Linked DNA regions of Homo sapiens: all the other regions are linked to region 1. Evidence: promoter capture Hi-C in 16 types of primary human blood cells and fetal thymus (Javierre and others, 2016). All regions are on one chromosome and are shown on one strand. The core of a region is centred on a gene start or on the middle of the fragment in contact, and the rest is flanking DNA. Distances in the headings are between cores, read along the strand shown. Region 1 holds the start of HTR7 (5-hydroxytryptamine receptor 7). Region 2 has its middle 8.5 kb from the start of LINC01374. Region 3 overlaps LOC105378424 (a long non-coding RNA gene). Region 4 has its middle 51 kb from the start of LINC00865. Region 5 holds the start of KIF20B (kinesin family member 20B). Region 6 holds the start of FGFBP3 (fibroblast growth factor binding protein 3). Region 7 holds the start of PANK1 (pantothenate kinase 1).

Evidence for each region. Contacts are between HindIII fragments. The CHiCAGO score rates a contact against its expected background, and 5 or more counts as called.
Region 2: a fragment that was not itself captured here is called in contact with the fragment with the promoter of HTR7 in region 1 in 5 of 17 cell types (M2 macrophages, total B cells, M0 macrophages and 2 more); the score reaches 7.6 in M2 macrophages.
Region 3: a fragment that was not itself captured here is called in contact with the fragment with the promoter of HTR7 in region 1 in 9 of 17 cell types (M0 macrophages, naive CD8 T cells, naive B cells and 6 more); the score reaches 9.7 in M0 macrophages.
Region 4: a fragment that was not itself captured here is called in contact with the fragment with the promoter of HTR7 in region 1 in 8 of 17 cell types (naive B cells, M0 macrophages, total CD4 T cells and 5 more); the score reaches 8.5 in naive B cells.
Region 5: the fragment with the promoter of KIF20B here is called in contact with the fragment with the promoter of HTR7 in region 1 in 8 of 17 cell types (M1 macrophages, naive CD8 T cells, M2 macrophages and 5 more); the score reaches 7.5 in M1 macrophages.
Region 6: the fragment with the promoter of FGFBP3 here is called in contact with the fragment with the promoter of HTR7 in region 1 in 6 of 17 cell types (naive CD8 T cells, fetal thymus, neutrophils and 3 more); the score reaches 7.1 in naive CD8 T cells.
Region 7: a contact is called between the fragment with the promoter of PANK1 here and the fragment with the promoter of HTR7 in region 1, in 4 of 17 cell types (M0 macrophages, M2 macrophages, erythroblasts and 1 more). The highest score is 7.2, in M0 macrophages.

What each region holds. Positions count from the first base shown.
Region 1 is chr10:90,855,996-90,859,988 of GRCh38, forward strand. HTR7 (5-hydroxytryptamine receptor 7) reads right to left here and starts at 2,044. Exons shown (of 4, transcript NM_019859.4): 1 at 1,138-2,044. The coding sequence starts at 1,676. RefSeq lists silencers at 1,642-1,691, 1,712-2,081. The HindIII fragment of the contact is 8,867 bases long and covers 1-3,993 here.
Region 2 is chr10:89,843,284-89,847,567 of GRCh38, forward strand. No RefSeq gene overlaps it. Among named protein-coding and RNA genes, the nearest start is that of LINC01374, 8.5 kb to the right of the region's middle. The HindIII fragment of the contact is 2,160 bases long and covers 1,892-4,051 here.
Region 3 is chr10:89,824,502-89,828,260 of GRCh38, forward strand. It overlaps LOC105378424 (a long non-coding RNA gene), which reads right to left. Exons shown (of 3, transcript XR_946196.3): 2 at 682-821. Among named protein-coding and RNA genes, the nearest start is that of LINC00865, 3.1 kb to the right of the region's middle. The HindIII fragment of the contact is 1,591 bases long and covers 694-2,284 here.
Region 4 is chr10:89,775,878-89,780,131 of GRCh38, forward strand. No RefSeq gene overlaps it. Among named protein-coding and RNA genes, the nearest start is that of LINC00865, 51 kb to the right of the region's middle. The HindIII fragment of the contact is 3,153 bases long and covers 1-2,920 here.
Region 5 is chr10:89,700,072-89,704,112 of GRCh38, forward strand. It overlaps KIF20B (kinesin family member 20B), which reads left to right and starts at 1,519. Exons shown (of 33, transcript NM_001284259.2): 1 at 1,519-1,609. RefSeq lists a silencer at 1,041-1,120 and enhancers at 1,165-1,680, 1,681-2,197. The HindIII fragment of the contact is 4,302 bases long and covers 1,022-4,041 here.
Region 6 is chr10:91,907,821-91,911,607 of GRCh38, forward strand. It overlaps FGFBP3 (fibroblast growth factor binding protein 3), which reads right to left and starts at 1,666. Exons shown (of 2, transcript NM_152429.5): 1 at 1,578-1,666; 2 at 1-1,227. The coding sequence starts at 1,149. The coding sequence ends at 373. FGFBP3-AS1 (FGFBP3 antisense RNA 1) reads left to right here and starts at 309. Exons shown (of 2, transcript NR_199602.1): 1 at 309-429; 2 at 1,077-1,528. RefSeq lists a silencer at 539-1,108 and an enhancer at 1,012-1,306. The HindIII fragment of the contact is 14,773 bases long and covers 1-3,787 here.
Region 7 is chr10:89,643,693-89,647,972 of GRCh38, forward strand. PANK1 (pantothenate kinase 1) reads right to left here and starts at 1,550. Exons shown (of 7, transcript NM_148977.3): 1 at 908-1,550. The coding sequence starts at 1,199. It overlaps PANK1-AS1 (PANK1 antisense RNA 1), which reads left to right and starts at 422. Exons shown (of 5, transcript NR_184344.1): 1 at 422-507. RefSeq lists silencers at 324-373, 1,074-1,553. The HindIII fragment of the contact is 3,186 bases long and covers 663-3,848 here.

The DNA.
Region 1 (3,993 bases), core at 794-3,293:
GTTTTCAAGAAGAAAAAAAGGAAAATCTCAGTTTCATGCTAGACCATCCTTTGAGGCACTGTCATTTTAAGTGTGGAGGCATCAATTATTTCCCCTAGGCTGAAAGATCTACACATATAAAGGTTCTATAGATCCACTAAGAAAATAAGCAACCATTTCTCTGTATCATTAAACACAACAGGATACTAGTCTTGAAACACCGGCAAAATTCTGAGTGTGAATATTAAGGTCTCATATTTCAGTTTCAAGTGAAATAGAGTTGTTTTAGGCCAAAGAGGATTGAGACCATACTTCAAGTTGTCAACTGCATAATATTTCAAGGGTCAAAGACTAGCTCCATTTCAAAAGCCTGTAACCTTACAGCCTGAAGAAACCCTGTGGGTCTCCTAGTTCAATATGACACCCAAGGCAGGAATTTTTCCCCTAGCATCCCTGACAGATGGTCAGCCTCTGTTTCAATTACTCCAGTGGGGGAGTTCTCAAGAGAAGGTTCCCAAGGGCTATGATGAAAGGCTAGAACCAGCCATTCAGACCTGGAGGAAGGCTCCAGTCAGCAAGCTCGCAAGATACAGACAGCATTACCAAACATTGAAACCAGACTTCCACAAGCAAGAATGCGATTCCGAACTGACCATCATAAAGATGCAATGTGTAAGACATACAAACCCCAATTCTAGAACCATCCAAGGTCCTTTTACTGGCCTAGGGAGTAGCTCCCACAATGGGGTAAGCAAGGTGGCTTTTCTCCGACTTATTATTATTATTTTTTAATGACTCTTTAAGGCTCACAGCAAGGCTTGATCAAGTCAGGGAGCACCAAATCCCTTCCTTCCAAAAACCAAGGCAAGGGACCCGCTGGTGGAAATGCTAAGGCTTAAAATACTCTTAACTTTGGTCTTAAATTCGTCACTACAGTAAACCAGAACATTTCCGGTTTTTCTTTTAAAGATGTACATAGGCTATGCCGTAACCGAAGTTTGGTTGGTGTAGGGTGGATTGGGGGGAGCGGTGTTTTAAGCGCAGCCCTTCATCCCGCCTTGAAGTCTAGCTTGATCCTCCCAGGAAAGGCGAGCGCGCGGGGCTGAGCTGCCAGCCGGTCCCCAGCCGGAGCCTGGGACGGGGCGGTCCGGCCCTTACCTGTCAATGCTGATCACGCACAGGGTCATGATCGAGGCCGTGCAGCACATGACGTCCATGGCGATGAAGACATTACAGAAAAAGTGTCCAAAGATCCACTTGCCCCCGATGAGGTCGGTGACGCTGACGAAGGGCATGACCGCCACAGCCACCGAGAGGTCGGCCAGCGCCAGGGACACGATCAGGTAGTTGGAGGGCTGGCGGAGCTTCTTGACGAAGCACACGGAGATCACCACCAGGCAGTTGCCCGCGATCGTCAGCAGCGTGATGAGCGTCAGGATGGAGCCGATCACAACTTTCTCGACTCTGCCGTAGTTGATCTGTTCCCCACAGCCGGAGGCATTGTCCGGGGGCGCGTCCCAGGTGGGCGCCGGGCTGGCTGTCACCTCGCTCAGCAGGTGCGGCGCCCAGGAGCCCGCGACCGGGTCGGCGCCACCGTCGGGGCTCAAGTCGGGCAGCCCGCGCCCCACTTCTGGCAGAAGGAAAGAGCGGAGGTGCCCGTAGAGGTCCGGGCGGCCGCTGCTGTTAACGTCCATCATCGCGCCGCCGTGTGCCGCTGCCCATGGAGCCGGCGCCCCGGCCACGCGCCTCCGGCTGCCGGCCCCGGGGCTTCACCTCACCGGTTCCGCTCCGCCCGGCCCAGCCATGGGGCCCGCGCCGACCGCTGGGGGGCGCCTGGCTCTGTCTCGGAGCCCCGCACTCCCCGGACCCCCGGCCGCTGCGGGTAACGCGGCAGCGCGGCCTCACGGGGACTCCCTGCGGGAGGCGCTTCGGCCCCCGACGGACGCCTGGGACGCGCGGAGTCGAGGGAGCTCGGGCTGGGCTCCGCTGGCAGCTCCACAGTTCGCAGCAGCAGCTCGGCTGCGCCGAGAGCGCCCGGGCGGCAGCGGCAGAAGTTGCGGAGTGCGCCCCGCCCCTCGCGCCCGCCGCCGCCGCCGCCGCCGCCGCCGCTCCCCTGCGGCAGCCGCGCCGCGTCCCCGCCGCCGCCGCCTCCGGCCGCTGCCCGCTCCCTCGCGCTCCTGGGACGGGATACCCGGGCTGGGCAGGCACCGCCGCCTCTCCCGCGCCTCCCTACTGTGAGGGGGCGGCGCTGCACGCGCCTCCCGGGATCCCGGGTCCCCTCGCCCGGGAAGCTGTCCTTGCCGCATGATAGATACTTAGAACCCCTCCAGCCGACCCCAGCCTCCGCACACTAGTCAGCCACAGTTCAGTGGGGGCATTTTTCTTTTGTTAAGAGGCCTAATGAGCCAGCGGATGTTTGGGCTCATTGCGAAATGAAGAACCTAGAGGGGGATTTTATTTTTCTTAATTAAACAACAACCAAAAAAACGTCTCTGAGCACTACACTAAGCAACAAATAGGTACTTCCGTTTTCTATTTTGACCGCTTATGGGAAGAAGCGAAGATGGAAAAGAAGCAGCCGAATGGGGTGAGGGTGGGAGCTCCGAGAAGAGGAAGAAAGAAAAAAAGGAGGGAGGGGGATTCCTTAAGCCCCTGGCACCCAGGAGATGAGGATGCTCTGGGGACAAGGCCTCCAAGGGGGTTACACCCATTTGGACTAATCCTTCCTGGATGTCTAGAAACAGTCCTCTCCGCTCTGAAAATAGACCCTGATTGCCTTTATATTTAGACTTCAAAGCCTAATATATTGAAAAGAGAGTTAATTTTCCCGTAGCATTCTGGAAGTCTTACACATAAGCAAAGAAATGACCGGTTATACTCTTCTATAAAGGAATCCTGGAGGTGTATGTTGATTTAATACCTATTGGCTAAAATTCCCCTTGGTATCCAAACCCTGTCAGAGCGGCTGATTTTTATTATTTGTGAGACTTGCTTCATTCCATTTTGTTTGAAGGTTTCATTGGAAGCCAGCAGTGATTTCTGTAGTTTAAGACTCTAAAAATAATCAAATCTGTTTTTTCTTGTTAGGCCCTAGCGGATTATAAATAAGAAGAAAAGGAATAAAAACCTCAAAGTATATTGATCAGAGTGCTGAATAGTACTTTCATTCTTCAAGGTGGGTATTAGCTCTGTTTTTCCAGATAGGGAAGGTTGTTAGCTCTTGCAATCAGCTGGTAAGGAATAGTTATGTTTCAAACCCAAGTTTATCTGATTACTATGCCCATATTCTTCCCTGTACACATTCAGAAAAAGTTTTAATGGAAAAAAAAAAAAGCCCTAATGTTCACAGCTCTTTTGCTGTGATCAACATTTCAGAGGCTCCTCTCTGCCTAGGATAAGCAAACCAATCCATTGAGTCAGAGGAAGAGTTGAATATAATACCTAGGCCACAAAGCAATATTATCTAACAGTTAAGATGGATGAGGAAATTTCTTCAACCTTACTTATGTTAGTTATTCTCTGTTTCGCTTTTCTTGGTTTGTTATCTGTGGTGAACCACGGTCCGAAAATATTAAATGGAAATTTTCAGAAATAAACAATGTGTAAGTTGTCAATTGCACACTATTCTGAGTAGCGTGATGAAATCTCTATCTTACCCAGGATATGAATCATCCCTTGTCCAACATATCCACACTGTATATGCCATCCACCATTAGTCACTTAGTAGCCCTCTCTCTTACCAGATCAAAAAAAAAAACATAGTATATATACGATTGGGTACTATCCGGGGTTTTAGGCATCCACTGGGGATCTTGGGAGAGAGGAAATCTCAGACAAAAGACAAATAGTTTGTTGCTGGAATGCATCTAAGAAACCATTTGTTCACCCTTCAGTGCAGAGGAGGAAATAGAGGCTGGGAGAAATTTTATAACTTATCCAAGATCATATGTGACTGCATTGAAATGTCTCCATTTTTTTATTTTGAGGTTTGGAATTGTCTTAAGGTCTTTTAAA
Region 2 (4,284 bases), core at 1,722-4,221, 1.0 Mb before region 1:
ATTGCTTTGCTAATCTGGCTCTTTCCTGGTTCTGTATGAGTGTTAGAATTGTTTTTTCTTTTTCTGTGAAAAATGACGTTGGTAATTTGATAGGAACTGTACTGAACCACAGATTGCTTTGGGCAATAAATTATTGCCATATTAAAGATATTGATTCTTCACAATTCATGAGCATGGAATATTTTTCTTTTCTTTTTCTTTTTTTTTGAAACAGGGTCTCACTTTGTTAACCAGGCTGGAGTGCAGTGGCACAATCATAGCTCACTGAAGCCTCAACCTCCCAGACTCAAGCAATCCTCCTGCCTCAGCCTCCTAGGTAGCTGGGATTACAAGTGTTAGCCACCATGGCTGGCTAATTTTTAATTTTTTTGTAGAAACAAGGTCTCTCTATGTTGCCCACGTTGGTCTCAACCTCCTGGGCTCAATGGATCCTCCTGTCTTGGCCTCCCAAGGTGTTGGGATTACTGGCACGAGCCACTGTGCCCAGATGGGATGTTTTTCTGTTTGTGTCGTCTATGGTTTCTTTTATTGGTGTTTTGTATTTCTCCTTGTAGGAATCTTTAACCTCTCTGGTTAAATATATTCCTAGGTATTTAATTTTAGTTTTATTATATGTAGCTATCGTAAATGGAATTGAATTCTTGATTTGGTTTTCAGCTTGAGTGTTATTGGGGTATATAAATGCTACTGATTTTTGTACATTGGTTTTGTATTCTGAAACTTTACTGAACTTTACTGAAGTCATTTATTATGTCTAGGAGTATTTTTAAGGAATCTTTAGGGTTTTCTAGGTATAGGATCATGTCATCAGTGAAAAGAGATAATCTGACTTTTATTTTTTTTTCAGTTTGGATGCCTTTTATTTCTTTCTCTTGCCTGATTGTTCTGGCTAGGTCTTCCAGTACTATGTTGAATAGGAGAGGTGAGAGTAGACAGGCTTGTTCAGTTTCAGGTCATAGGGGAAATGCTTTTGGCTTTTCTCCTTTCAGTATGATGTTGGCCATGGGTTTGTAATGTGTGGCTTTTATTATTTGGAGGTATGTTCCTTCAATGTCTAGTTATATCATGAAGGGATGTTGGATTTTTATCAGATGCTTTTTCTGCATTTATTGAGATATGTTTTTTGTTCTTAATTTTCTTTATATGGTGAAACACATTTATTGATTTACATATGATTTACATATGTTGAACCATCCTTGCATCCCTGGAATAAAAACCACTGATCACTGTAATGAGATGAACAGGGTACCTCAGTTAGGAATGCAGAAATCATCCACCTTCTGCGTTGGTCTCACTGGGAGGTGCAGACTTGGGCTGTTCCTATTTGGCCATCTTGCCAGATCTCTCCCCCAATTCCCTGATTCTGTCAACAAAGACCCTGTGCTCAGATGGGAAGTGCCTTGTTTAAGGTTACACAAACATAACTTGAGCTTTAAGTAAGTGTGAGCCTTAGGAGAGGAGAGAGGAGAGAGGAAAGAGGAGAGAGGCCGGGTTTGGCAGGGGTGGTGGAGTGACTGTGGGAGAAGGCAAACACAATTTATGAAACAGAGTGTGTGTCATAGATTCAGGGAAGGAAGCAGGCCATTTATCTGAGGTGGATGGTTTGTGTAATGGAGTTAGCTGTGAGATGAGATGGGTAAGAGGTTGGGGCCAGATTATGGAAAGCCTATGTATGAAATGAGGAGCCATTGAAAATGTTTGAAAGGAATGCTAGGAGATCACAAGAAATAATAACTGAGAATTACAGCTGATCCTGAGGTTGCTCAGAGGTTTGCTCAGAGGTTGCTCAGAGGCTTTCATTCTACTTTAACCATAACTTAACAATAAAAAATACATTTTACACTGAATCAGCACATGCACACACACACACGCACACACACACAGAAACTTAAGCTTGACAAGACAAGGATTAACCTATGTGTGCTATACTCTATTTTCCACTTCATTCCACTAAACTCTAAGCCTCCCTTTTTTGGAGACTGAATTTATCCGGGGGAGGGGACTGGTGGACGGCATCCTAAGTGAAAGGCGTAGCGTGACAAACTCCGGGAGCTTTGAGGGCAAAGTGTGATCTGGGTAGGTTTCCAGATTTAGTAAATAAAAATAGAGAACACTCAGTTCAATTTGAATTTCAGATAAACAATATTCCATAGCTTGGGAAGAGCAAGACATTCTGTGTGGCTGGAACACAGGTGGGTGTGAGAAAATGGCAGAGGCGAGTCTGGCGTGTATTGGGATCATGTTGTGAATGCTTATGAGAGAATAACCATCTTTTCTGTAGCCTCTTGCTCATATTGAAGGATAATTTGAGAATAATTATTGAATGCTTGAAAAGAAATTTAAAAAATACACACAGAAAATATGTAACCCTTGAGTCCTTAGCTCATTAACAATAAAGGTGGAATCCTCGTGTGTGGGTGGAATGATTATTAATTATTAACCATTGCATCTGAGTAATTCTTTCTTTTATCCTGATGATTTTGTTTCTAAGATGCCTTTGTCCAGGTGTTTAGTTGAGAAGGGGGAATGAGCACATTTTGCCACATATACTTCTTATTATATTCCAGCCTGAAGCAAGAATTTAAGTTATTAACAGTAATGGAATTAATAACGTGTGTGTGATCAACTAAGCAAGTCTTTGCTCTGTTTAAGTAGTTTTCCAGATGTCATCAATGCAGGTTGTCTGTATTTCATCCTCTCTTCCCTGTTTGTGGACCCTGATCTTCACTATATCATAGACATGGCTCCTGGCAAGCCAGGGAAGCCACCTGACCCAAGCTGAACCAGACAGAATTCAGTCTCATTTGTGGTTTTACTGGTAACTCAGGAGCTCATGGTAGCCATGGGTTTTTTTTTTTTTTTGCCATATGCAAAATCAAAGAAAGCCAGTCAACACTATGGAATTCACTGAAGAAGCAATTCAGTGAAGGTGGGGGAGAGTATATGCACTTGTATTAGAGGAAAAGCATGCTAGAATTAGAGAATGAAAAGTGAAGACAAGCAAAGAAGGGAGAGAGAGAGAGTGACAAGAGGGGGGTGAAAAGGAGGCAAAAGGAAGGAGGGAGGAGGAAGGGGAAAAGGAGAAGGGAGAAGGAGGGAGGAAGGCTGAGAGCCAAGCCCTACTAGTTGTGCAATCCCTGGGTTCATTACTCTCCTAAAGTGACTTGGTTGCATTCTATCTGGTTTGTGAGATGACCTTTCACCTTCTGATGAATTGCCTTTATGCTTAGGATCACTACAGTGGGCTCTGTTACTTAAAACAAGAGTACTAATTAATAAATCAGATCACTGAAGTCATATTGACCCACTGTGATTGCTATGGTTTGGTGGTGATTATGAGAAGGGTATTTACTCAGCAGGTAGAACTTGGCCATAGAACTCCTTCATGGCAAATAGGAAGAAGCATGGCTTTTGTTAAACTGAGCACATACATTGCTGAGCATAACACAAACTACCCTGGTGCATAGTTTCCCTTTTCCATCTAGAGCTTGTTCTGGATTTGTTCTGGGAAAAGCCTATGGGTTTAATTTGGAGCTGGTTTATTTCAGTCAGTTGGGGAGTTGTTTTGTGGTACTTTTAACACTACTCAAACAAATGTTTCCCAAGGTGAATTCTCTGTTCAATGAAACTAGCAGTTACACAGTGGAAAAAAGAAAGAAGGTGGTTCTGTGGTCAGGCCATGTTTGGGTTAACTGCTTTGTAGTACCTCTCAAAGCCTTTACTATGCTAGTTTGCATTGTAAATTTCTAAGAGGCAAAGAGTTGATGTAGCATTTCCTGAGTTCACTTGACCACAAAGCGGGATATGTCACTGGACTAGTGTCTCCCAGGACACACTGGGGATAAGATAGATAGCTGAGCACATATGAGTGGATGGCCACCACTCCAGTGTGCAGGACTGACAGTGAGAAGGACCTGTCCAGTAGCTGCCTCTTACACATTGACCTTGATTTTAAGGTGACAAGAAAATGATCTGACTGCCAGTGATTCTCCAATACTCTTGACATTTCTAAAGAACAGGTTATTAAAAAAACATCTAACACTAAAAGGGAAGCTTGGCTCAGTTTATATTCAGATCAAAGAGACTATGGACAAGGGATCTGTGGAGAAAATTCAGGCAGTCTGTGAACTTGAATGGGAATAAAAATTGCATCTTTATTTTCATTAACTTCAGGCTGAAATTTAGCATTTCCTTCAGTTATTAATGTAGCAACAGACCCCATAGTTTGAGCAGCACCCATTATTTGTCAGTAATAGAAATCTCAAATGTATTCACATTACATCA
Region 3 (3,759 bases), core at 239-2,738, 1.0 Mb before region 1:
GAATTCTGGTCACTGCCTTGAAACTGACTACTATAAAAGAGAAGTTGCCCCAAACCTGGTGTGGGAAGGAATCTTTTTACATGATGTAATTTGCAACCTCATTCTGAGAAGAAATTAACATTCCTGACAAAATGCTTAAGTAATATTCTGGAAAACATTAATGGACCAAAGTCTTGTTCTAGGAAACCAGTCACCTATCTACCCCACTGAATGACATTCAACAATCTAGTGGCTTTTAACAAACATTCTCTTCTTTTTGTATTTTCCTATCAAATGTTCTTATGAAGAATGTATTAATATTTCTGATTGGCTTACTGGAGGCCTTTGTCCTTGAAGCAAGATTGTAACAAACTTTGACAGTGCCCATAACTAAAATGTCTGAAGGGTTTTTGTGAACACTCTAGACTGGTGTATTTGCTGTGGAATCAAACTTTCTTATCAATCCAGTGGATGTGGATCCCCTCACCTGCCTACTGCTTACCAACCTCCTCCCTGCTTCTTCGTCATTTCTTCCACCCCTCAGTATTTCTGTTCCTTGTTGATCTGGACTGGAGACATTGAGATGGCCTAGGCCCACCCAGTTGGAGCCCTGTTTTGGAGTATCTTTTTCCTTAGATGGTTGTGAGTCACTTCTCAAAGGCCAAGTGGAATTTTTCAGGAAAAATATCATGGGAAGGATACCTCATGAGGATAAGCTTAACTGTCCAAGATTTATCCTGAAGAGAGGGAAGGATGCACTGGGAGATAAACACCTGGCTGTTTTAAAAGGTCATTCATTCACAGTCTGATCTGGCTATCAATAGAGACCGTTTCACTGAATCCTGGAACACAAGAGAGAGTAGTTAGTTACCTTTGCAGCTTAAGAATGCTTAAGCCAAGTAAGAGAAAATACCACTTCCTCTGGTGGACAGTAAGTCAAGGGAAATATTATGAGTTTAAAAATGTTTTTATATATTCACAAATAAAAGAACCATGATTAAGAGACTCTGAAATGCTTGGAGAAACACTGTTCTTGTTAACATTATAGTTAGGGGCAAATCACCTCCCAAATGAATTGTTGAAGATGCTATTGGCCTGAATGGACCATTGATCCAATCCAGAAAATTATCATTTCTTTTTGTTTTGGCTGGAAGGCTTAGCTTTTAACATTTTGACAACAATTATAGAGAAAGAGCAATATTGCTTATTTAGCATCCTGCTGAATTTCCTTATTGTAGAATTTTCATCTAGAGTTTGGGTAACTCTAAAATGCTTCAGAGGTATTAACAACATTGCAGTCTTCACCAAGTGAGGAAAACCTACAAAAAATGTGTGTGTAGGTGCAATGAAAAATTTTCAAGTCAATGTAAATGTGTTATAAGAGTGGAGAACCTGGAATTTTTAGAAGTAACTCAGCCCTAATACTTTCTGTCAAAATATAGAAGGCCACAGCTTTAGAAAATAAATACAAAACCTCAAACTTCTGTCCCTTTGAAGAATAAGAAAATATGAAACATAAAAATAAAATATCTGGAAAATACAGAGACATTTTGTTTTGCATCTTCATTTTCTTATTATTGACAAATTGAAAATTCCTGTTTTGTATTAAGCACAATGTTTGCTGTCATAAAACGTTTAAGCAGTGTGATCTGGGTTTATTTTTTGGAGTTGCCATCAGGGAGGACAGATTGCTTTTTTAAAAGTTACATTTCATTTTTTAAACCTTGAGCTAAAAAGCCTTTGGAGAATTGGGGGCACTGTCAGTGAGGTGCCTAACTCCTAGGGAATAGAAATAGAATGGCCTGGATGAAATATTTTTGTAAACTTCTCAAAATTCAAAAGTGTAACTATATGAATTTACTTTCTATTTAGTCCAGTGGATAAAAAGTGAAAGTTTGCCTTAAGGTTCAGAGTCTTGTGCTAAATTTGTTCAAAATTTCATGTGAAATAGTTACCAAATGGATACTTCCACCACACTTATCTACTTATGGTATCTGGTATTAAAAATAAAACCAAAGGAAGAAAAAGGCTGCTAATAATGGCAATGAAAACAGCTCATTCATTGGCTTTATTCCTTAGGCAAGGATTTCCAGAGCACCTTGATAGGTCTTAAGGATGTCAGATAGTGGGCATAGAGTGATGAGGAAGACAGGCACCATCCTTACCCTCATGGAGACTCTAGTTTAGTAGGAGAGGCAGGCCAAATGTGCAAAGGCCTGCAGGAGGCAGGAAAGGGACCTAAATTTGTGAAATGGTGTGAATTGATGGGAAGTGTGACAAACCAAAAAGAGAATGCACTGATTAAAGCTTTTCAAAAGAAATACTGTGTGGACCATGGAATGCATCTGTAAGCAGATTAGTCCTACATACCATTTGAAACCTCTACATTAAAGGAATAATTGCACAAATAACCATGCTAACCATGCAGGAAATAAGGACTATAAGGCATAATCCAAGATGTCATGAGAAAGTATAGTCATGATTCCTGACTATAATTCCTGAGGAAGTTGCATTTTACCAGAGACCCGAAAGATTTGATTAGTAGACTTAGTAGGCAGTAGGGACTGGAGACAGAAGATTTAAGGTGAATCTAACAGTAGAGGGCACAGGATATCTGAAACTTCCATGTGATTGGAGCCCAGTGAGTGAGGGGGGGAAGCAGCGAGGGATGAGCTGAAGTTTTAGGAGCCAGACAATGTAAGATTGAATAGGCTATGTTGAGAATTTAAACTTACTCTAAAACTAATGGGAATTTCTTAAAGGATTGTAAAAAAAAGGGAGGATTCGATCATATATATATATATATATATATATACACACATATATATGTATATATACATATATATGTATATATACGTATATATACATATATATATTACAAGCATGTTCTTATTGAGGTGTGGAGAATTCAGCAGAGGAAGAGGTCAAGGTGGGATGTGGATAGAACAGTTAGGAAGCTGTTGCAGCAGTTCAGGTGAAATGGACTGGGCTTTGGTCAGGTGGTTGGCCATTGAAATACAGAGACATTTTATCATTTGGGATTTGGAGTAGCTGTAACTGAAACTCCAAATTACAGTGGCTTGGACAGATATTTATTCCTCTCTCGCATAACTGAAATCTGTACATAGCCTAGAATTCAATTGGTGGCTCCACCATTCTTAGGGACCAGATTCCTTCCATTTTGTCAATACGTGACTTCAACCTCCTCATTGACGGTGGCTGCTTTAATTCCAGTCATGTTGTTTTCATCCCAGACAACGTGAATGATGAAGGGAGGAAAAAAGATACATCCCTTTCCTGTAAGAGAATTTCTAGAAATTATACGTGATGCTTGCAGTTACAGCTCATTGGAAAGCACTCAGTAGCATGGCCCCATGTGATTACAATGGAAGATAGACAATAAAATGTTTACTCTAGGTTACTACAGGTCTAGTTGAAAATCAGGACGTCTATGACTAAGGTTGAAAGGAACAGAAAACGTTGATAAATAGCCAACATCTGTAATACAAGTAGATAAAGTTGAGACTTGTTTTGGAAATAAAGTTAGCAGGATTTGATAACTGATTTAATGGGGGTTGGGTGAGGACAAGAGAAGGAACAAATCTCATTTCTACTTTTCTGAGACAATCAATGGTAGTACCTTTTTGGAAATGAAAAAAATGAAAAAAGGGGCAGGTTTAGGGCAAAGAACAAAAATTAATTAGCTGTTGGGAGCTTCCTCAAAATTATAGAGGGAGCAATTTATCAATTTTTTGTTGTTGTTCCATTCTAGAGATGTTT
Region 4 (4,254 bases), core at 94-2,593, 1.1 Mb before region 1:
ATATTCAGTTTTCTCAGCACCATTTATTAAAGAGACTGTCTTTTCCCCATTGTTAGTTTTTGGCACCTTTGTGAAAAATGAGTTCACTGTAGTTGTGTGGATTTGTTTCTGGGTTATTCTGTCCCATTGGTCTATGTGTCTGCTTTTATGTCAGTACCAGGCTGTTTTGGTTACTATAGCTCTATGGTATAATCTGAAGTCAGGTAATGTGATTCCTCCAAGTTTGTCCTTTTAGCTTAGGATAGTTTTGGCTGTTCTGGGTCTTTAGTGGGTCCATATAAATTGTAGGATTATTTTTTCTATTTCTGTGAAGAATGTAATTGGTATTTTGATAGGGATTGCCTTGTAACTGTAGATTGCTTTGGGCAGTATGGACATTTTAACAATACTGATTTGTCCAATCCATGAACATGGAATATTTGTTCATGTTTTGGGGTCCTCTTCAATTTCCTTCATCAGTGTTTTATAGTTTTCATTATAGATATCTTTCACTTCTTTGGTTAATTTCTAGGTATTTAATTTTATGTGTGGCTGTTGTAAATGAGATTACTTTTTAAATTTCTTTTTCAAATTGTTTGCTGTTGGCATATAGAAATGCTACTGATTTTTGTACATTGATTTTGTATCCTGCAACTTTACTAAATTTATCAGTTCTAATAATTTTCTTGTGGTCTCTAGGTTTTTCCGAATATAAGATTATATCATCAGCAAACAAGGATAATTTGACTTCTTCCTTTTCAAGGATGCCCTTTGTATCTTTTTCTTCTTGGATTGTTCTAGCTAGGACTTCCAGTACTATGTTGAATAGCAGTGGTGAAAGTGGGCATCCTTTTGTTCCAAATCTTAGAGGAAAGGCTTTCAGTTTTTCCCCATTCAGTATGATACTAGCTGTTGGTCTGTCATATATGGCTTTTATTATGTTGAAGTATGTTCCATCTATATCTAGCTTTTTGAGGGCTTTTATCATGAAGGGATGTTGAATTTTTTTTGAGGGCTTTTATCATGAAGGGATGTTGAAATGCCCTTTCAACATGAATTGAAATGATCATATGGTTTTTATTCTTCATTCTGTTGATGTGATATAGCATGTTCATTGATTTGTGTATGTTGAACCATCCTTACATCCCAGCAATGAATCCCACTTGGTCATGATGAATGATCTTTCTAATGTATTGTTGAATTCAGTTTGCTAGTACTTTGTTGAGGTCATTTTGCATCAATATTCATCAGAGACATTGGCCTGCAGTTCTCTTTTTGTTGTGTCTTTGTCTATTCTTGGTATCAGGGTAATACTGGCCTTGTAGAATGCATTTGGAAGTATTCCCTCCTCCTCTGTATTTTGGAATAGTTTGAGTAGGATTGGCATTAGTTCTTCTTTAAATGTTTGGTAGAATTCAGCTGTGAATCCATTGGATCCCGGGGTTTTCTTTACTGGGAGGCTTTTTATTACGACTTTGATCTCGTTACTTATTGGTCTGTTCAGATTTTGGATTTCTTCCTGATTCAATCTTGGGTAGGTTTTTTGTATCTAGGAATTTTGTCCATTTCTTCTAGATTTTTCAATTTACTGACATGTAGTTGCTCATAGTAGCCTCTAATTTCTGTGGTATCAGTTGTATTATCTCCTTTTTCATTTCTGATTTTATTTGAATCTTCTCTCTTTTTTTTCTTGGTCTGGCTTAAGGTTTGTCAATTTTGTTTAACTTTTCAAAAACCAACTTTTTGTTTCATTGATCTTTTGTATTTTTAATTTCAATTTTGTTTATTTCTGCTCTGATCTTTATTATTTCTTTTCTACTAATTTTGGGTGTGGTTTGCTCTTGCTTTTCTCGTTCTTTAAGGTGCATTGTTAAATTGTTTATTTGAAGTTTTTCCTGTTTTTTTTGATGTAGGCACTTATAACTATAAATTCCCTGTGAGAACTGCTTTTTCTATATCCCTTAGGTTTTGGTATGTTGTGTTCCTATTATCATTTGTTTCAAGAAATTGTTCAGTTTCTTTCTTAATTTCTTTATTGACCCACTGGTCATTCAGGAGCATATTAATTTCCATGTATTTTTACAGTTTCCAAAATTTGTTATTAATTTCTAGTTTTATTCCATTGTAGTCAGAGAGGATGCTTGATGATGTTTCAATTTTTTTGAATGTGTTAAGGCTTATATTGTGAGCTAAAATGTGGTCTTTGAGAATGCTCCATGTGCCGAAGAAAAAAATATGTATTCTGCAGCTCTTGGATGAAATGTTCTGTAAATATCTGTTTAATATTAGATCCTTGTGGTCTGTAGTACAGATTAAGTCTGATGTTTCTTTTTTGATTTTCTTTGAAGATCTGTCCAATGCTGCAAGTGGGGTGTTGAAGTCTCCAGCTATTATTGTATTGGGGCCTATCTTGCTCTTTACTTCTAATGATACTTGCTTTATATATCTGATGTGCCAGTTTGGATTCATATATATTTACCATTGTTATATCCTCTTGCTTAGTTGATCTCTTTTTCATTATATAATGACTTTGTTCTTTTTTATAGTTATTTTGTTGAAATTGATTTAGTATGATATAACTGTAGTGACTCCTGCTCTTTTGATTTCCATTGGCATGGAATATATTTTTCCCTCTCTTTCTTTCAGTCTGTGTGTGTCTTTGTAGGTGAAGTGTGTTTCTTGTAGGTAACATATCAATGGGTCTTGTTTTTTCATGCAGTCAGTCTGTATTTTAGATTGGAGAGTTTAGTTCATTTACATTTCATGTTGTTAATGATAAGTAAGGGCTCACTACTGTCATTTTGTTGTTTGTTTTCTGGTCTTCTGTCTTTCTGACTTCCTCTAGTGAAGGTGATTTTTCTCTGGTGGTAATATTTAATTTCTTCGTTTTTATTTTTTGTGTATTCATTGTATGTTTTTTTTTGGTTTGAGGTTACCATGAAGCTTGCAAATACTATCTTATAACCCATTATTTCAACCTGATAACAGCATTATTTATTTACATAAACAAGCAAAAATAAAACTAATAAAAACTCTACTTTTTAACTTCATACCCCTGCTTATTAACTTTTTGTTGTTTCTATTCATATCTTATTGTATTGACTATGTCTTGAGTTGCTGTAGTTGTTATTTTTGATTGGTTTGTCATTTAGTCTTTCTACTTAGGATAAGAGTAGTTTACACACCATAGGTACAGAGTTATAATGTTCTATGTTTTTCTGTGTACTTATTATTACCAGTGAGATTTGTTTTTGCAGGGGATTGTTTATTACTCATTAATCTCCTTTTCTTTCTGATTGAAGTACTCCCTTTAGCATTTCTAGTTGGACAGGTCTGGTATTGATGAAATCCCTCAGCTCTTGTTTGTCTGGGAAAGTCTTTATTTCTTCTTCATGTGTGAAGGATATTTTTGCTGGATATACTATCCAGTATAAAAGTTTTTTCTCTTCAGCACTTTAAATATGTCTTGCCACTCTCTCCTGGCTTGTATGATTTCCACTGAAAAGTCTACTGCCAGACATATTGGAGCTCCTTTGTATATTATTTGTTCCTTTTTTCTTGCTGCTTTTAGAATCCTTTCTTTATCCTTTACCTTTGGGAGTTTTAATTATTAAATGCCTTGAGGTAGTCTTCTTTGAGTTAAATCTGCTTGATATTCCATCACCTTTTTGTACTTGGATATTGATATCTTTCTCTAGGTTTAGGAAGTTCTCTGTTATTATCCCTTTGAATTTCTATCCCTCTGCCTCTTCTTTAAGGCCAGTAACTCTTAGATTTGTCTTTTTGAGGCTGTCTTCTAGATCCTGTTGCCATGCTTCATTGTTTTTTATTTTTTCTTTTGTCTCCTCTGACTATATTTTAAATGTTTGTCCTCAAGCTCACTAATTCTTCTGCTTGATGAGTTCTGCTATTAAAGAACTTGGATGCATTCTTCACTATGCCAATTACATTTTTCAGCTTCAGAGGTTCTACTTGATTTTTAAAAGTTATTTTAATCCCTTTGTTAAATTTATCTTACAGAATTTATCTGAATTCCTTCTCTGTGTTACCTGGAATTTCTTTGAGTTTCCTCAACACAGTTATTTTGAATTCTCTGTCTGAAAGGTCACGTATCTCTGTTTCTCCAGGATTGGTCCCAGGTGCCTTATTTAGTTCATTTGTTGACGTCATGCTTTCCTGGATGGTGTTGATGCTAGTAGATATTCTTTGGTGTCTGGGCCTTGAAGAGTTAGGTATTTATTGTATTCACTGTCTGGGCTCATTTGTATCTGTCCT
Region 5 (4,041 bases), core at 269-2,768, 1.2 Mb before region 1:
AAGTCTTCTTTAAGAAGGTACTATTTTAGACGTAACCTAAATGATGAAGGGAAGTGCCACGTGTTGAATGGAGAAGAGAGAATTTAGGTACAGGGAACAACCCATGCAAAGGTTCATACATGCTGGAAAGAAGTTGGTGTTTGAGGTATCCAGAGCAGATCAACTTACTGTACAGTTAGTGGGGAGTGAGGTCGGCTGACACTTGATTGTGCAGGACCTGGGAGGCCATGGTAAAGATCAGAATTCTATTCCTTTTCCCCCCTCCTCTTTTTATTTTATAAAATCTGTTATTTTAGAAAGTTGCAAGACTGGTACGATGTACACCATTATACCCTTCAACTAGATTCACCAATTACTAATATTTTGCCACATTTGCTTTCTCTATTTTTTTGCCATATCTTTTGAAGGTAAGCCGCAAACACTGTGACACTTTGCTGCTAATTACTTTAGCAAGCGCCTTCCAAAAACAAAGGCATTCTTCCACTTAATCACAAATTAATTCTCACATGCAATCAATTTAAAACTGATTCAATATCATCTAATATGTAGTTCATATTTAAATTTCCCCAGTTGTCCACAAATGTCTTTCGAAGTTTTTTTTTTTTTTTAAAAACTATGAACCAGCCAAGATTCACAAATTTCATTTGGTTTCTTTTGACTCTCGACTAAAGTAATTTTCCACTTCGTTTTTTTCTTTTTCCTGTCATGACACTGACATTTTTGAAGAGCCTAGGCCTGTTGTCTTGTAGAATATTCTACATTGTTTTTTTCTGATTGTTTCCTCATGATTAATGTCAAACATTTCTAGCACAAATACTATCGGGTGATATTAGCGATGCTAAGTATCTTCACTTGGTTAAGGTATGTCTAATAAATCTCTTCAGTGTAAAATTCTATTTTCCCTTTATAATAAGAAATGATCTGTAGGGTGATTCTTTGAGATACTAACATCCTCTTCCCTACAACCTTTCAGTTAATTGTTTGTTTTAGCATCTTGCATTCATTAGTTTTAGCATTCATAAGCTTACCTATATCAATTTTTAGACTGGCAGTTGCACAATGGGGATGCAGCGAGGGAAGTGACCCTCCGGATCCCGGGATGCCGAGCCTTTTTCTGCCCCGTAGGGACAGGACTGGGAAGTGGCTAGCCCGCCATTCCTCGGCCCGTCCTTAGGGGAGTCGCAGGACTAAGTGCAGTGGCAGTGGCCTCACCTCGGGCCTTCGCCACATCTTTATTGCCTCAAGGACAGAATTGGAGATCGGTGTCCCAGTCAACAGCGTGGTACTTATGACAGCCGCGAGAAAGCGCACTACTAAAGCCCGGCTAGCAGAGCTGGGAGGCAAACCAGACCGTCAGCACCAGGGCGGCCCACGCCTGCTTCCGCCCATTGGCTGCCCGCGTTTCAAGACCCGCCCCCATATTGGAGAGCTTCTTCCGGTAGCCACTGGAAAGCCCGCAGCGCGAGCCGGCTACGCTCCCTGGCGGAGCTCTGGACGCCCCACCTACTCCCAGCGTTCAGTGCGGTGCCCTGGCCGCCATTGTTTGAATTTGAAAACGGTAACATCGCAGTGCTGCTCGCGGGTCTGGCTAGTCAGGCGAAGTTTGCAGGTGAGGAGGTGACCCGCGGGAATGTGTGGGGAAGGAGGTGGGTGACTGCGCATGTATGGGGCCTAAGGTGGGGAAACGGCTTTGGCAATGTGGACATGTTCCGACAGGGCTCATACCCCAGTGGAGGTTACTGTCAGGAACTGGGTTGCGGAGCGATGCGAACACGGGGTACGCAGCGAGGAATGAGTCATACTAATTCGGTTACGGTTTAAATCTCGCCTCCACTGCTAATTAGCTGAGTGACGCAAGACAATTCATTTAATCTCTCTCTGTACCTTAGTTTTCTTATCAGTTAAAAGGCTGCAATGAAGTGTCTATTTCTTTCGGCTTTTGTGAAGATTAAATGGTAATGTGTAAAGTTATTAGTGCTGGCACACAGTAGGTACTAAATGTTTGCAGTTATTAATATTATTATTGTTGTTGCTTCTGTTGTTGTTGAGGAACAGGCCTGTTTTGCCACACCTAGTTTTCTGAAGCTCTGAGGTGAGCAGTTTGCTCGGCTGGTAGGTAACACGGCCTTTTTGCGGGGGGAGCCCTGTGGTAGCCTCTGTGCACTTATTTCCAGACTACTCCTACTGGTCCTTGGGGCTTGCCCTTCTAGGGTTTTGCAGTGCCAGGCTGAAGAGTTTGTGGCACAGTGACTGCTGTCATTCCCCAGTTTAGAAGGCTTTCTCCATCTCGATTCGCTCGCTGGTTCAGTGATGCATGTCTGGCACAGTTCTCTTATATTTCTTGCTAAACTACTAGTTTACAGAAGTTCACGCCTTATGGGTTAGGTAGTGTAACAGTGTATTTATCTTACATGTCCAAGACTCCAGATTTTAAATTGTAAAAATAACATAAAATACTCATCGATTAGTTGTGAAGACTTTTTTTGAGGCTTTGTGTTGTAGACCACATTCAGAAACCTCATTCAGCAACAGATTCTGCTATTTTTCACCAAAGTCTCCAATTGTGGATTCTTATTGGAGAGAGGGTAAATATGCAGTTTTCCAGTCAGAGCAGCCTTTTGAAATGAAAAATGAGGTCTTGGAGCCTGCTGTCACGAAAGATAATATTACAGACTAGGACCGACTTTTTTTTTTTTTTTTGGAATAGTATTTTCTTTATAACCATTATTTTAAGTCATTAGGTAGTCTTTATCCCTGCATAAGTCGCTGAATTTGTTATAGGGGATACAGAGTGGTATAAGGCAAGGTTCTTGCCATCAAGAAGTTTCCAGTTTAGTTGGGAAGGCCACGTATAAGTAGAAGTCATCTAAAATCGCAAGAAGTTACAGTAAGTCTGAACACTTTTAGAAATGCTAGGAAGTAGTTTGTTCATTGAAAAATGAGCATATGAACAAATACTTTATTATAACTGCTTTTAGTACATAGGAATATTCTTTTTAATTCAGCAATTTAAAAGATTTATCAACACTTTTCTTTAAACCAAAAATTATTATTTGAAGCCACAGGTGTTTTTTAGTTTTCTGGGCATTTCCATGAACTCTGTGTTATGAAATGTCAGGCCGGTACTTTAACGTTTTGCAGATGCTCCCCCCTCTGCACCCCCTTACCCATGATCTAGATCAGTGCTTTCCTTAGTCTTTTTGCAATTTAGGGGAAAAAAGTCAACTATGTTCTTGTGATACGTTTAGGAATTTCAGCCTGATCAAGGAAAAAGATTGACAACAAGATGGCAGGAATAAACAAGGATTTTGACAGGATTGTAGGCAAAGGAAATCCGTCTCAGTTTGGGACCTTTTCTAGACCAGGGTGAGGGGCCACCATCTAGAGGGGAAAGAGGGCAAGGGGAATGGGGAGTCGGGGAGGAAAGAATCATAGAGGGGCTTACATGCCTAAATGATGTTGCACAGTGGAGAGTCTCCGGATCATAGAAACTCTCAAGGGCAGCAGTGGCTTGGGGGTCTTGATAATCCCGGGTTTTATGTGTCTGGCAAATGTTGGGTGCAGTTTCATGGGGCATTCAAACCTGGCAGGCTCTAAATGGCTAAAAATATGCTTATTTTGGGCCATTTTGAAAGTAAATGGATGCTTCAGAATTTGACTTTGGCGCCCCAGCAGGCTTTTCCCTTTTTTTTTTTTTTTTTTGACGCAGTCTTGCTCTGTGTTCAGGCTGGAGCGCAGTGGCGCAGTCTCGGCTCACTGCAGCCTCTGCCTCCTGGGTTCAAGCGATTCTCCTACCTCAGCCTCCTTAGTAGCTGGGACTACAGGCGCATGCCACCACACCCGGCTAATTTTTGTATTTTTAGTAGAGTCGGGGTTTCACCATGTTGGCCAGGAGGGTCTCGATCTCCTGACCTCGTGATCCACCCACCTCGGCCTCCCAAAGTGCTGGGATTACAGGTGTGAGCCACTGCGCCCGGCCGTAGGCTTTTTAATTTTTATTTTAAACATTCATGGTCCTTGATCCAGTGGGCTTTTGAGCTA
Region 6 (3,787 bases), core at 416-2,915, 1.1 Mb after region 1:
CCCCACATGGGACTCACATCACTTTAGTCACTCTATCTCCCCCTTATTCTCAGCCTCCCTCTGCATCGATTTCTCTCCCCAGTCTCCAGTTTTTGCACATTTAAAGTACGCCTATTTCTGTTTCCATTATTTTTCCTGCTCTTAATCAGGACTGAGACTTTTCAAAATTTTTAACTTCTCTGCTATCCCAGAGATTCTCCATACCCCTTACACTCTCATCCCAAGCATCTCACCCTTACCCTTGCCCCCACCCCCATTCGAGAACCTGGACTTCTCCCCAATCTCTATCACAGTACCCCCCGGTCTAAGACGCCCTTAGCTTTCCCTTCCCCACGCCTCCCCCATCAACCCTCCCTAAGCCGGCAGGCAGTCTCAGCCGTTCCAGAAATTGACAAAGAAGTTGCAGAGGGAGTGCCACTTCTCAGCGCAGTAGGTCTCCGTGAGCTCCGCGTTCCCGTCCAGCCCGTCGGGGTCGGGCCCGGTCCCCATGGGTCGCTCCTCGTTGGGGACCAAGGCCGCCTTCCTCTTGCCCTCGTTGGTCTTCCTCTCTGAGGGGTTTTCTTTGGGCGGTGCGCTTTGGGGAGGCGGGGTCCCAGCGGCTGGGCCGGACGCACGCTCCCGGGTCCGCCCCCGGTTCCGGGCCCGGGGCTTGGACTCCCCCGCGAATCCCGCGACGGTGGGGCGTGCGGGCGGGGACGCGCGGGGCACTAGCCGCAGCTCGGCGCCGTGGCCCTTCTTGCCCGCGCACAAGCGGGCCTGGAGCGGCGCGGGGTCGTGACAGGGCCTCCGCTTCTTGCGCAGCCCTCCCAGCACCTGCTTCCAGAAGTGCGCGCGGCGAGCGGCGTAGGCTGCGCAGCGCTCCGGATGCCCGCGGTAGGCGCACTGGTGGCGCGCCCCGTCCGGGCTCTGGCAGCGCAGCGCCAGCTCGCTGCCCGCTGCGGCCTCCGGGGCGGGCAGCAGGAGCTGCCAGCTGCACGCGTGCTGCTCGGGGCTGAGGAAGCGACCCGAGGAGCCGCCAGTGGGCCCGGGGACCGGCTCCGCCACGTTGCTAGCCGCCCCTTTCTCCCTCCGAGCAGCCGCGAGGAGGCAACCACTCAGCAGCAGCAGCAGCGACGGCGACAGCGACGCTCGCAGCTTCGGAGGAGTCATGCTCCGCGGTTTCCGCGCTCCGCTGTTCTCAGACCACGTTTGTCGGGGCTGGACCAGGCAAAGAGCATTCCCCAGGACCTGCGGACAGAGGCAGAGACTGCCACCAACTGAGCCACACGCAGCGCTTCGCCCAGACACATGCACCTGCGAACTACTCTTCCGCAGACTTTCTAGAATCTGCAGCCTGCGAGGAGACCCTCTGAGGAGCTTTCCTGGGGAAACTGCTTACTGTCTAAATAATCACTTTCGAACCATGTATGCATTGAGATTTTCTTCCCCTTGCAAATACGATAGCAAAACGATGCGTGATAATTGCCCCCTCTACCCCTTCCTTCATTTTCTCCCTTCTCCAACCTGCAATAAACTATCTACAAAATCATTTCAGATGATTCCTTGGAAACATGCACTTTACTACACTTTGAACTTACCGAGTTCTGGGAGAGGCGCCAAAGCCTTATTAGGGTAGAGGGAACGACTGCACGGGGGAGTAGTCTGTTTTAGCCGGCTCCCTGTGAATGAACGTGGTATCAATGGAACAGAAGAGGCCTACCCTTCTTCGCCCCTCCCCGATTTCTCTCACACTGGGAGACTTATCACCGCCGCGCTTCTCTCTCTCTCTCCCTCTCTCTCTCTGTCTCTCCAGATGGATGATGGAAGCGGTCCTGTAGTATGAAATACAAATCTTGTATTTTGCTTCCAATGTTTAAAATAATCAGGCAAAATTAACCAAGTTTTTCTTCTTTCATGTACTTAACCATCCAAAAAATAAAAATTAAACAAAAGATCTAAGTTTTAAAAGTTAAATAAAATGAAACAAAACAAACTTCAGTATTCTAAACTAGGCATTTTTTACACAATTATATCATTTACATTCTATTTCTCATATTCTGAGTTCTACATTTTTACCTATTATTTCCAATAGCCTTTCTTAAGACTCTCAATCTTAATAATTGTTACTACTAATAAAAATATAATATCCTAGTTTATTAACATACAATAGTGCCCAGCAGTTCACCCAGGAGTGGACATTTGGGCTTTTTATTATTTTTAGGTATTAGAAATCAGTTATAAGGGTCCTCCAAAAATTAGAAGTTTAAAAAAATTATTTGTATTATAGTAGTTGAACGGTAAGATTACCAATTGAAATGGTATAATAGTTAAGAATGTGAGACCAGCCTGGCCTGGTGAAATCCCGTCTCTACTAAAAATACAAAAATTAGCCAGGCGTGGTGGCAGATGCCTGTAATCCCAGCTACTCAGGAGGCTGAGGCAGGAGAATCACTTGAACCCGGGACAGGGCGAGACTGCCTCTCAAAAAAAAAAAAAAAGAGAGAGAGAATGAATGTGTTCTTGAATCTTGAAAATGTTACATTTAAGCAAAGCTGCTTTTTCTGGAGGGGGGGATTGTGTGTGTGTGCGGGGGTTTGTTTGTTTGTTTGTTTGTTTGTTTGTTTTGAGACGGGAGCTCACTCTGTCACCCAGGCTGGAGCGCAGTGGTGCTATCTCGGCTCACTGCAACCTCTGCCTTCCCGGTTCAAGCGATTCACCTGCCTCAGCCTCCCCAGTAGCTGGAATTACAGGTGCCTGCCACAACACCCAGCTAATTTTTAGTGGAGAAGGGGTTTCACCATGTTGCCCAGTCTGGTATCGAACTCCTGACCTGAGATGAGCCACCTGCCTCAGCCTCTCAAAGTGCTGACCAAGCAAAGCTGTTTTTTCTTTCTTTTTTTTTTTTTTTGCTCTTTTTAAAATTTTTATTTAGAAGCCTACTTGTAGAAGTTAGCATAATTTTACAGATTATTAGAAAAATTCAATTATTTTCTCTCTGCAAACAGTTATAATAGGTTAGGAATAATAGATTAGAAATGTACTACATTGCAAAAACAGTGGCCTATAACTATCTGTACATTTACTGTGCACCTTAAGGAAAAGAATTTGACAGTGTGCTATACTTACACTGCAGGTAACATATTTTTATTCTATCACACAAAACTGACCAGTGGTAGTGCTTGAATTTATAAATGGCCATTAAACAGAATATTTAAACTGAGATGTATATTTAGCATGCTAAAAAGTGAAAAAAATTTCAACTGAAGTTCTGTGGCTCATCAGTTCAAATGTTTCATGGCATTTTTTTCTTTAAACGAAAAATTTTGATATTGTAAAACAAATAATTTTACATAATAAATGCAAAAGTATAAAATTTTCTAAATTTTTAGAAAGAATATTTCCATTCATTTTGTCATGGGTTTTGTGTGGCTCCTCTTAATATATTAATGATATTAATAAGACACTGGTCCTATACCACTTTCAGAGTCCATCTTCAATTAAAAACTGTAACAAAAATAAACAGTATGTAGAGTAACACAAAGTAAATTAAATATACTAAACTCACACAACAGGTAGAATAAAATGAAACCAAATTACATAATGGCAGGTTATACATTTTAAAGACTCTCTTTCCACTTAGTCAAATAAGAAAGACATTGAAATGTTAACTTACTGATTTCTGTGGGGTTTTCCCCACTGGTTCAAATGCGAAAGTTTGATATAAATCTAATATTTTATTTCTGTACATTTAACATGATTCAGTATAATCTGCAGTCTCATGTATAGCTTGTCAATAATGCCATCATCA
Region 7 (4,280 bases), core at 300-2,799, 1.2 Mb before region 1:
TTACTTTGCTTTTTGCCATTTATAAGCTTCATTAAAGACACCCACAAAGAAGTAACCAGTTGAATGAGCTTCAGTCAAGAAAAACCAGCTGTAAACTCGACCTACAAATTTACATCCCACAGCGTCCTGTGGGGAAGGTACACTTTACAAACTACCATTATATATACAAGCTTTAGATTGTGAAATAATGCACTTCGGCTTTCTCCGGTGTACATTACAATTACAAACCCTCAACTCAACCTCCCCCTTCGTTGAAAAAAAAAATCCACCTCCAATCCTCATTGGTCCACATAGTTCCGGCCCACATGGTATCAGTGGGTGTGTCCCTCCCAAAAAACCCTCTCATTGGCCGTGAAGAAACAGCTTCTAATAGGCTGTGATTTTGGGGGGTAGTTAAACTCCACGCCTCCAGACTTGCGCTCTCCAATAGACCCGAGACGCTGCTGGCTACTCTGTGATTCAAAGGGCAGGCAACCCCAGTAGGACGCGCTCAGAGAAGCGAGAGGGGTGAGAAAGGAGAGAGCACCCTCGGTGTGCCGCCCACTTTATCCTCACTCCTGGACCCCAGCAAATGTTCACACACCTGCGTTTTCCCAGCCACCAATTAGAAGGGCGGACAGAGCGTTCGCTTATTATATATCCTTGACCTAGGGACCCGCTCAAGCTTCGTGTCCAATCCTCGTTCTACTGATAGAAGCGAGCAAAGGGCAGGCTCAGGCAAAGACCTGTAGTGCTTGATGTCCCCTAGGAAAAGAATCAGTCCCGGGAACCTACTCTGTGCAGTCCCTCGACCGCAGACGCGGGGGCGCACGGGGCGTGCTGCGGCGCCTGCCTCAGCCGCTCCCAGTCCCGGGCCCCGCACGCTGCGTCTGCCTTGCGCCCGCGCTCCCCTCCCAGCGGGACTTACGCGGCCTGTTCTTTCTCCCCGAGTCCATCCTCCTCCGCAGCCGGCATTTCTTGGCCGGGGAGTCATGCTGAGGGAGCAGTGGCTGCGGCTGCAGCTCCGGCAGGAGCGGGAGGCGCTGGGGCGCCGCGTCGCTGCCGCCCACTGGACCCCGGCTGCAGACGTGCGGCGGCTGGACTGGCGGCGGATGGAAGCCGTTGTGCAGCAGCCCGTTCACAGCGGCGGCGCTGGTGCCCACGGGGGCCCCTGGAGAGTGCGGGACCGAGCGCTCCTGCTGCCCGCTGCGGTCGCCCATGCCGGGGGCTGGCGGGGCTGTGCGCGGGCCCCGGCTCAGGCGGCCTCGCTGGAGGTCATTCTCCGGCGTCTTTATTTCCCCGGATCCTCCCTGCGGCTTCCGATTCAGCAGCCGCAGAGCCGGCGCCTGGGGATGGCGAACCCGGCGCTCCTCCCCTCCTCCTGCCGACTCCCCCACCTCCTCTGCGCCCTGCCCCCCGCGCGCCGGCCCCACGGCGCCGGCCTGGAGCACGCCAGCCCCGGGCGCGGAATCGGGGATCCCCGCGCACCCCCAGCCGGGGCTCCCGCCGCCCGCCTTCCCCTGATCCCCAGGCCGCGCGACTTCAAACGCGGCTTCCTCGCCTCCCAGACTGGTCCCCGCCACTGAGCATGCCCAGTCCTGCCCGCCACCGCCACCGACGAGTTTCAACATGGGGAATCAAGTTCTCTGGGCTTGCAGAGAGGAGATGGGCGGGTTGGGCTTTGTATGGCGATGTGAAAACCAGATGGGTCTGGGAGAGACAGCGAAAGGAGCGAACCGTTTCAGGAGGAATACGGGAGGAAGACAATTATTTGCAGAGGTGTCAGGTTTGCTAATCCTGTCCCCAGTGAGCAAGATACCTTTGCAAGGTCATTCACGTTACCCTCCCCGCTTTGTGAGTGTGTGCTTACGCGCGCGCGCGTGTGTGCCTGTGCGTTTGGTTAAGTGACCAAACTACTTAGAGGCCTGAGGGGAGGGAGAACAATTATTTATAGAAAAGTTGGCAGACTTGGGGAGGGAGGGGAGTGAAATTTCTTTGCTGGCACGCACACACACTCAAACACCATGTGGTCTCATGGAGTTGTCTTTTGCAGGGAGGAAACCTAGGAATACAGTGTAAGGACAGTGAAGGACAAAACTGTAGGCAGGATTAATCGGTGCTGAAAGAGATCAAGTAAACAGGAGCAATTCCATGCTATAAAAAGCACTTTCCTCACCCAGAAAGGACTTCAAAAGACAATGTCATGTTATTTATAGAGTAAGGAGTTGCCTCTTCTAAGAAGGGAAGGCGGCATCACGTGGTGACCAGCACTACGAGCTTTGGAGTTAGCACTGGGTTCAAATTCCAACTCAGCCACTGAGCAAACCCAGATAACGTTAATGCTCAAGGTAACACTTCTAGCAATAGGAAACGGGACTGTCCATGCTCACTATGCAGGACTAATTTGGGTGGTGAATACCTTCCCAAAGTTATGCAATCTCTTGAGGCCTCACTTTCCTATCCATAATGGGGCTGTTGTGAGAAAATCTACTAAAAGTACCTGGTACAATCCTGGCACACAGTAAATGCTCAGAAAGCTAGTTTTCCTTATTACGCTATTATGATTAGCAGTTCACCCTTTGTTTCGACAGGGGAACAAACCATGCTTACAGCCGTATTTATTGTGTGATTTATTTTGTGATATTCTCCGTGATTTGCAATTAATCTACAGAGGAGTCAGAGTCTGGCAGGTGCTGGCTGGCTACTGGGTTGCTGGGCCCCTGGGCTTCAGTGCATTCAGCAGCATCTAGGGCTTGCATCTGGCAATTCCTTCCAGCAGAGCCTTACCTAGAATCAGAGCTTGAGAACCATGGGGGCCACTGGAGCACTCTGGTCTATCCACTCTTGCATACTTTTTTCGTATCAGGAAACTGAGCTGCAGACAGATGGCTGAGGTTATTAAGAGCAAAGGTGGGACTAAACTCCAAATCTCAACTCTCTTAGCTTCCCTAACCTTATGCTATTTAAAGACAGAGAAAAAAACCCAGGTGATCTGGCCCCTCCCTACCTCTCCTGCCTCATCAGGGGCTCCCTGTGCTGCCTTCAATTCCTTAAACAACATTCTGCTGTTTCCATTGCCTTAGAGAAGTCTCTTCTCTAAGACCTCTTTTGTCTACTAGACTCCAACTTTAGATCTCCTCTTTAACTTCTCATATTTAGAGAAATGTTCCCTGACCCTTAGGGCTACATTAGGTCTCCCTGCCATACCCTCTTCCTACTCCTTGTACTCTGTTTATGACTCCTTATCATTTTGTAACTATACCATGCATCTGTTCCCTCATTTGTAACTTGAGAATAATAGGACATCACTGAGTTGTTAGACTGATGAAATGCATAACACATGCGTAAAATTAATTCAAACTTCAAGCTATTGGAACTTTTTTGTGAGACTTGAGAGAAATGTGGCTATGCAGCTACAACTTCTGCTTTTTTTTTTTTTTTTTTTAAGACAAGGTCTCACTCCTTCACCCAGGCTGGAGTGCAGTGGCACAGTCGTAGCTTACTGTAGCCTCCAACTCCTGGGCTCAAGCGATCCTCCCACCTTGGCCTCCCAAAGTATTGGAATTATAGGAATGAGCCACCATGCCTGGGCTTGCCTTTTTTCCTTGTAAATAATTAGGAAGACCGAGCAGGGCCAGAGATACTAATCCCTTGGATCACTGCCTCTCCTCACAGAGTAATAATCTTCCTTGGAATGCAGCAGTCTGCAACCAATCAAATCGCTGTGGCATATGCATTGGTCTTGTATGGAAAATGTAATTCTGCTGGAACTTCTCCATCTCTGCCAGTATAAGTGAAATCTTAACTTCTCCACTTTGGAGCACTGATCCCACTCATTTGGAGTTAGTGTTTCCAGGTGGCTATCCTCAAGCTTTGCACTCAAACTTCATACTTAATCATGTTCTCTAAATCTCATTATTTAAGGTTAACATATGTAAAGTGTCCAGCACATTGTAAGTGCTAGAAAAAGACATTATTATTATTTGATTGCCCATCTTACCCCACTTCACTGTAAGCATCTTTAAGGCAGATGACTTGTTCATCACTCTATCCCTAGGAGGCACTTGGTAATTATTTGTGACTGGATAAATGACTTATATCAAGCTTGTCTAGCCTGTGGCCCACAGCCTGCATGCGGCTCAGGACGGCTTTGAATACGGCCCAACACAAATTCATAAACATGAGATTTATTTTTGTGACTTTTTTTTTTTTAGCTCATTAGCTATCATTAGTGTTAGTGTATTTTATGTGTGGCCCAAGACAATTCTTCCTCTTCCAGTGTGGCTCATGGAAGCCAAAAG